Linked DNA regions of Homo sapiens: region 1 is linked to region 2. Evidence: promoter capture Hi-C in 16 types of primary human blood cells and fetal thymus (Javierre and others, 2016). All regions are on one chromosome and are shown on one strand. Each heading gives the region's core, a stretch centred on a gene start or on the middle of the fragment in contact. The rest is flanking DNA. Distances are from core to core; before and after follow the strand shown. Region 1 overlaps CENPN-AS1 (CENPN antisense RNA 1). Region 2 holds the start of GABARAPL2 (GABA type A receptor associated protein like 2).

Evidence for each region. Contacts are between HindIII fragments. The CHiCAGO score rates a contact against its expected background, and 5 or more counts as called.
Region 1: a fragment that was not itself captured here is called in contact with the fragment with the promoter of GABARAPL2 in region 2 in 1 of 17 cell types (total CD4 T cells); the score reaches 5.8 in total CD4 T cells.

The regions. Positions count from the first base shown.
Region 1 is chr16:81,032,407-81,035,474 of GRCh38, forward strand. CENPN-AS1 (CENPN antisense RNA 1) reads right to left here. Exons shown (of 4, transcript XR_007065134.1): 2 at 2,349-2,520. It also overlaps a transcript of CENPN not described here. Among named protein-coding and RNA genes, the nearest start is that of ATMIN, 1.9 kb to the right of the region's middle. The HindIII fragment of the contact is 1,237 bases long and covers 725-1,961 here.
Region 2 is chr16:75,564,962-75,568,055 of GRCh38, forward strand. It overlaps GABARAPL2 (GABA type A receptor associated protein like 2), which reads left to right and starts at 1,418. Exons shown (of 4, transcript NM_007285.7): 1 at 1,418-1,559; 2 at 1,891-1,946; 3 at 3,076-3,094. The coding sequence starts at 1,526. RefSeq lists a silencer at 1,481-1,890 and an enhancer at 1,880-2,633. The HindIII fragment of the contact is 5,212 bases long and covers 1-2,823 here.

The DNA of each region.
Region 1 (3,068 bases), core at 93-2,592, 5.5 Mb after region 2:
TCCTATGAAAAAGGGTATATAAGCGTCCACACCCCATTGGGGGTTGGGGAATCATCACTCTGATGCCTCCCCTCCCCACCAGGCACGTTAATAAAACTTGTATGTCTTTTCTCCTATTAATCCGTCTTTTATCAGTTGATTTTCAGTGTTTTTTTTTTTTTAGCACTTGTTTGCAGGATCCAAAAGCTGCTCTGCTATTCTGGAAGCCACAGTCAAGGGACCCAGGACCCGAGCAGCTGGCAGAAGGACTTGTACCTTCTGTTTGTCCCATTGTATCCAAGATGTTAAAATCATGATGTCACAACATTTAGACATTTAAATGGTTAATCAAATGTATGTCTCTCCTGATATACAGCTAACTGCTATAGACTAATGCAGGCCTCCTTGTTAAAATGGACCCTTTGTTACTCAAATTTGACCAATCTTGGAAGCTTGGATGTGCACTGACTTGACAACCACTTTTTGTGGGACATAACACTCTAGACACAGGTGCTTCTAGCTCTAAGGGGAACAGATAACTAATCTGTGGCCAACCAACCAATGATTAATCAGCTATGCTGCCTCGGATCTTGATCAAAAAAGGAAAATGTGAAAAGTGATACACAAAATGGCATCACTTTGGTTCAGAGCTCTAAAATGGAGTTGGGAAGCCATTCTAAGAAGGACTGCCTGCACAATCTGCAACTTGCAAAACACAAAAACAAAAAATATGAACTTGCCTTGAAGCTTTGAACTGGGCCAAAACTGCAATAACCACTACATCCTGGAAAACTGAATTTCACCAGTGCTACAACTCCTGAACAGCGGCAACCAATCAACTATGGATTCATGTACTAAGCCAGCCACCTCCACCAATGATAATTCTTTCAAAACAATTTGTGTATTAACCCTCTGCTTTCTTTTAAAAACATCTACTTCTCTCCCTCTTTTCAGAACCCCATTTGGCTTCTAGGTGAATCTGTGTCTCCCAAATTGTAATTTCTAAGACCCCAATCAAAATGCCTTGTTTGGCTGGACGTGGTAACTTGCATCTATAATCCCAGCACTTTCGGAGGCCGAGGCAGGTGGATCACTTGACCCCAAGCTGGCCAAAATGGCGAGACCCTGTCTCTTTTCTTTTTTTTTTTTTTAATTAAAAAAAAATGCCTTGTCTTACTGCTTTGCAGTGTGGTCTTTCACCTCTTCTTTTTTTTTTTTTTTTTTTTGAGACAGTCTTGCTCTGTCACCAGGCTGGAGTACAGTGGTGCGATCTTGGCTCACCACAACCTCCGTCTCCTGGGTTCAAGCGATTCTCCTGCCTCAGCCTCCTGAGTAGCTGGGATTACAGGCGTGCGCACCACACCCGGCTAATTTTTGTATTTTTAGTAGAGACAGAGTTTCACCATGTTGGCCAGGATGGTCTCGATCTCTTGACCTCGTGATCCGCCCTGCCTCGGCCACCCAAAGTGCTGGGATTACAGGCGTGAGCCACCATGCCTGGCCCTTTCACCTCTTCTTGGTTGACATAAGCAATCAGTTCTACAGCAGATACCAGCTGGGTATGCTCCAGTTCAATTCCAACACTAACTACCTGGCGATATCATCAGACCCCATAGGTTAAGGGCTCAGTCCCACAAAACTGCCACCCACTTCTGAGGCCAGTTGCCAGCCCCAGGTTGTTTCACCTGCGCTTCTGACTAACCAGCTATAAATTGCATTTCCCACAACCCTCTCTTCATGTTCAATTAATTTGCTAGGGCAGCTCACAGAACTCAGGAAGACACATAGACTGACTTCTTACAAGGGATGTTACAAAGGATTCAGATGAAAAGATGCATAGGGCAAGAGCTTCCACGCATGCCCTCTTTGAGTGCGCCTCCCTCCAGGAAACTCCATGCATTCAGCTATCTGGAAGTTCTCCAAACCCATTTCTTTTGGGATTTTATGGAGGCTTCATTACCTAGGAATGATTGATCAGCTTAAGCTTCAGCCCCTGTCTCCTCCCCAGAGGTTGAGGGGGAGGGCTGAAAGTCTCAAGCCTCTAATCCTACCTTGGTCTTTCCAGTGACCAGTCCCATCCTAAAGCTACCTAGGGACTGTGAGTCATCAGTCAACTAATTAGCATACAAAAAAACACCAATTTGCTGATTCCAAGGATTTTAGGAATTGCATGCCAGGACAAAGACCAAATATATACTTCACATTATCACAGTTATCTTGCAAGGCAAAGGGACTTGGCAGTTGGAGAAATTATCCTGGATGATTTGAATGGGCCCAATGTCATCACAGGGGGCCTCAAGAATAGAAGAATCAGAGGGATCACTACTGAAGAAATCAGAGTGATGTGATGTGACGAAGACTCAACTCACCGTTACTGATTCTGGAGATGGAGGAAGGGTCCGCAAGCCAAGGAATGTAGGCAACCTCTAGAAGCTGGGAAAGGCAAGTGAACAGATTCTCCCCTGGAGCCTTGGGAAGGAATACAGCCCTGCTGACACCTTGATCTTAGCCCAGCAGTCTCATTTCTTTTGACCTCCAGAGCTGGAAGATAATAAATTTGTGTTAAGGCAGTAAGTTTGTGGTAATTTATTAATAGCAAGAGAAAACGAATATAGCTGCTAGTATGTAAAAGGTGGAAATTTTCACATAAAACTCTAGCCATACCAAAGATGAGTAGCAGCTGCCCCCTTTTAATAAAGGATGTGTTTCCAATTTCACTGCAGTCCTCACCCCTCCCTTTTGTCTACCCCAGCCTCCTATGTCCATTTACATGAACTACCCAGTCTAAGTATTAAGTTTTGTAATCGTATACTGAACTGCAGTGTCTCCCAAACAGTAATCCTAATTTCAGCAGCTAAAATAGAAGCAAGCAAATCCAGCCTTCTTAAAATGATTAATCCTATCAATAATAACAATCTTTTCATTTGTATAGTGTGGTCTAGGTCAAGTTACTTAATTTATATAAGCCTAAATGTCCTTCTCTGCACAAGGTGGGGCAAGTTACAGTACATACCCGCTACAGTCGTTTTGAAGACAAAATGAGACACAGCATGAAAAGTGCATCCACCAGACCCACCTGGTACCCAGTA
Region 2 (3,094 bases), core at 168-2,667:
CCACAGCATCGATCAGGAATTTCCAGTGTAGGAAATGATGAACTACCACATTCAAACATACAGGCTTTACAGGTGCATCAGAATCACAAGCACGTGGCAGGGTTCATGTGCCCAATTAAGTGAATATTCCTGCTACATGTTCAGCAGCTTATAAACAGATGGTGACCCAGACCAGACTGCCTTGATGAGTCTGCTTGGAAAAAAGGCATTACATCACTGATTGGAGAACCTCAAAGCATATGTCCGGGCAGGTGACACACACACAGCTCAGGCTGTGATTGCTAAACCACTCCCACAGCCAAATAAGGAAACCCATCTCATGACCAGCTCTCAGGGGAATTCTCCGAGTCTGACAGTCACCTCTAACTCCTCTGCCAGTTAAAATTAAGGGGTCTGTGATCAGTGATGTTACACTCCTCAAATGTGCATTTTTTTTTGAGGCGGAGTCTTGCTCTGTTGCCCAGGCTGGAGTGCAGTGGTGTGATCTCGGCTCACTGCCACCTCCACCTCCCTGGTTCAAACGATTCTCCTGCCTCAGCCTCCCGAGGAGCTGGGACTACAGGCGCCCACTACCATGCCTGGCTAATTTTTGTATTTTTAGTAGAGACGGGGTTTCACCATGTTGGCCAGGCTGGTCTTCAACTCCTGACCTCAGGTGATCCACCCGCGTCGGCCTCCCAAAGTGTTGGGATTACAGGCGTGAGCCACCGTACCCCGCCTCAAATGTGCATTTGTGATACCTTTTCGTAAATGTTTATTCAAATATTTATTCACGAATAAAGGAAGAAAACGGGATTTGTTTAAATTCAATTTCTAGGTCCAAGACAACCTACTACGGCTGTCCCTAATACGGACCTCCGGGTTGTCCTCAGTGCCGCTTCCAACAGTGTCCTCAAACACCCTCCCCTCCCATAATGAGCCCCCAACCTGTCACCACTCCGAGCAATACTCCCCAAACTGTCAACGCCCTAAACAGCTCCCTTGTTATCGCCAAGCTCTAGAAAGCCCTCCTTATGTCATTCTTACCCCTAAAGACCGTTCTTGTCACCAATTCCCCAGACTTCCCCTATGAACCGCTCTAAGAGCCCTCAGCTATCAGCCACACCCCCAAACAGCCCTCAGTAAGAGCCCTACACTATCAGCCAGACGTTTTCCGCCACCAACGCTCCCGAGACCCCACTCCTGTCACCAGTTCCCCGAACATTCCTGCGAGCAATGTCGCAGATACTGCTCACAGACGTCCCCATAACCAACTTCTTCGCCACCGCAGCCCAGGAGCCCCCAAAGGGGTCCTCCGCGGCCCCGCCCCTTTACGTGCGGCCCCGCCCCTTGGCGTGGCGCCCTGACAAATGGCGCCGGAAGCCCCGCCCCCGGCCGGTTGCTAGGCTCCGACAGCCGGAAGTCCCGCCTGCCGTGTAGTCGCCGCCGTCGCTGCCGCTGCCGCTGCCGCCGTCGTTGTTGTTGTGCTCGGTGCGCTGAGCTCCGCGGCTCCGCGAGCCGGTTCCGTCCCCTTCCCGCCGCCGCCATGAAGTGGATGTTCAAGGAGGACCACTCGCTGGGTAAGCACTTGGTCGTCGGCCCGGCTGCTGGGGGCTGGGGCGGCGGGTGGGCCCCCTCCCCCACTCGGGCGGCCCTGGGCCGAGTGGAGCGGGGCGGATGCCCTGCTGCGGGCTGGAGTCGCCCATGCCCTGGTGCCTCGGGCAGCGGCCCCCTGACCCCATGTCACCCTCCGCGGGCCTTGCTGGGAGCTAGTAGGGGACAGGACCGCGGCCCCGGGGACGCCGGAACCAGGGCCTGGGTTGTACGCAGGGCGCAGGAGGAGGAGGGCCGGGGGCCGGGAACCGACCGGTGGGCAGGCGCGGCCGTCAGCCCCGTTTGTTTCTCCCACAGAACACAGATGCGTGGAGTCCGCGAAGATTCGAGCGAAATATCCCGACAGGGTTCCGGTGAGTGGACTCTCCGCCCCCTCACCTCGCTGTCACCTCTGTCGTCTGGGACCCGTGATAGGCCCCAGGCCATTCAACAGTTGACAAGTTGAGGTTCCAGTCCCAGTTACAGTAGCTGACGGGCCAGACCGGGATGAGGCCGCCCAGGGCCGGGGCGTGAGGGGCTCGGGCTGGTGCTGTTCAGGGTGCCTCAGTGCTGAATCTCCCGATCTAGGCCAGCGAGCCGTCTGCAGCCTCGGGGCTCCCTGGCCAATTATGTAAGGAACGATGTTCTAGGACAGGGCAACAGGTCACTGCCACTTTTGGGAATGGTGGTGGAGGGAGACTGTCATTTTGGTCTTGGAAGTGGTACTTGAGTCTCAGGACGTTCATCTTTTACTTTGTCTCCATCTTTACCTAACTTCTAGCTCCGTTATCTCACCTTGACCCTGTCATCCTTGCCTGACCAAAATAATGTGAAAAGCCGCTGAAAACCCCTTCTGCCATATTTTCTTCTTAGTCAATAATAAATATAATGTTATATTTCTTCCATGGTTGGGGAGATAGTTTTGTAATCGTTATTAATTTTTAATGGACATTAAGGCCTGTTATTGTAGCTCTTTGCTTGTGAATAATTTGTCTGGGGAAAGGAGTAGGAGGGACGGATTTGAAACTTGTTCAGAGAGGAGCAACAGGCCAAATGAAGAACTTGGTTCTTGGCTGGCTAAAATTCCAGGCATTCCAATTAGTCCATCCATTCTTGTCTCCTGTGTTCCTTGGGAACACAGTAGTGTTTCCTGTAGTGTGAAGGTGGATCCATTCTGGGGTCCTGGAGTAACGGGCCATGGATGAAACCCTCCCCAGATATTCTTAGGTCTGCCCAGATAAAATGTGGAAAAGCTTAGTGGTAAGGGCTGCATTTCTCTTACATAATTGACCACAGAAAAGCACTTACTGTTTCCCTGTAACACATTTATATCAATTCTTAACCTCCAGAGCGTGTGGTTTATTAAGCCAAAGACATATTTTCTCCTGCTATGCAGTTCCCCACCCACCTCCTTGCCCACACTCTGTTCATCAGCTCCTCAGCCATGTGAGGCCAGAGCCTCGCTTTAGGAAACACAGTCCTGACCTCTCTTTACTTTCCCAGGTGATTGTGGAAAAGGTCT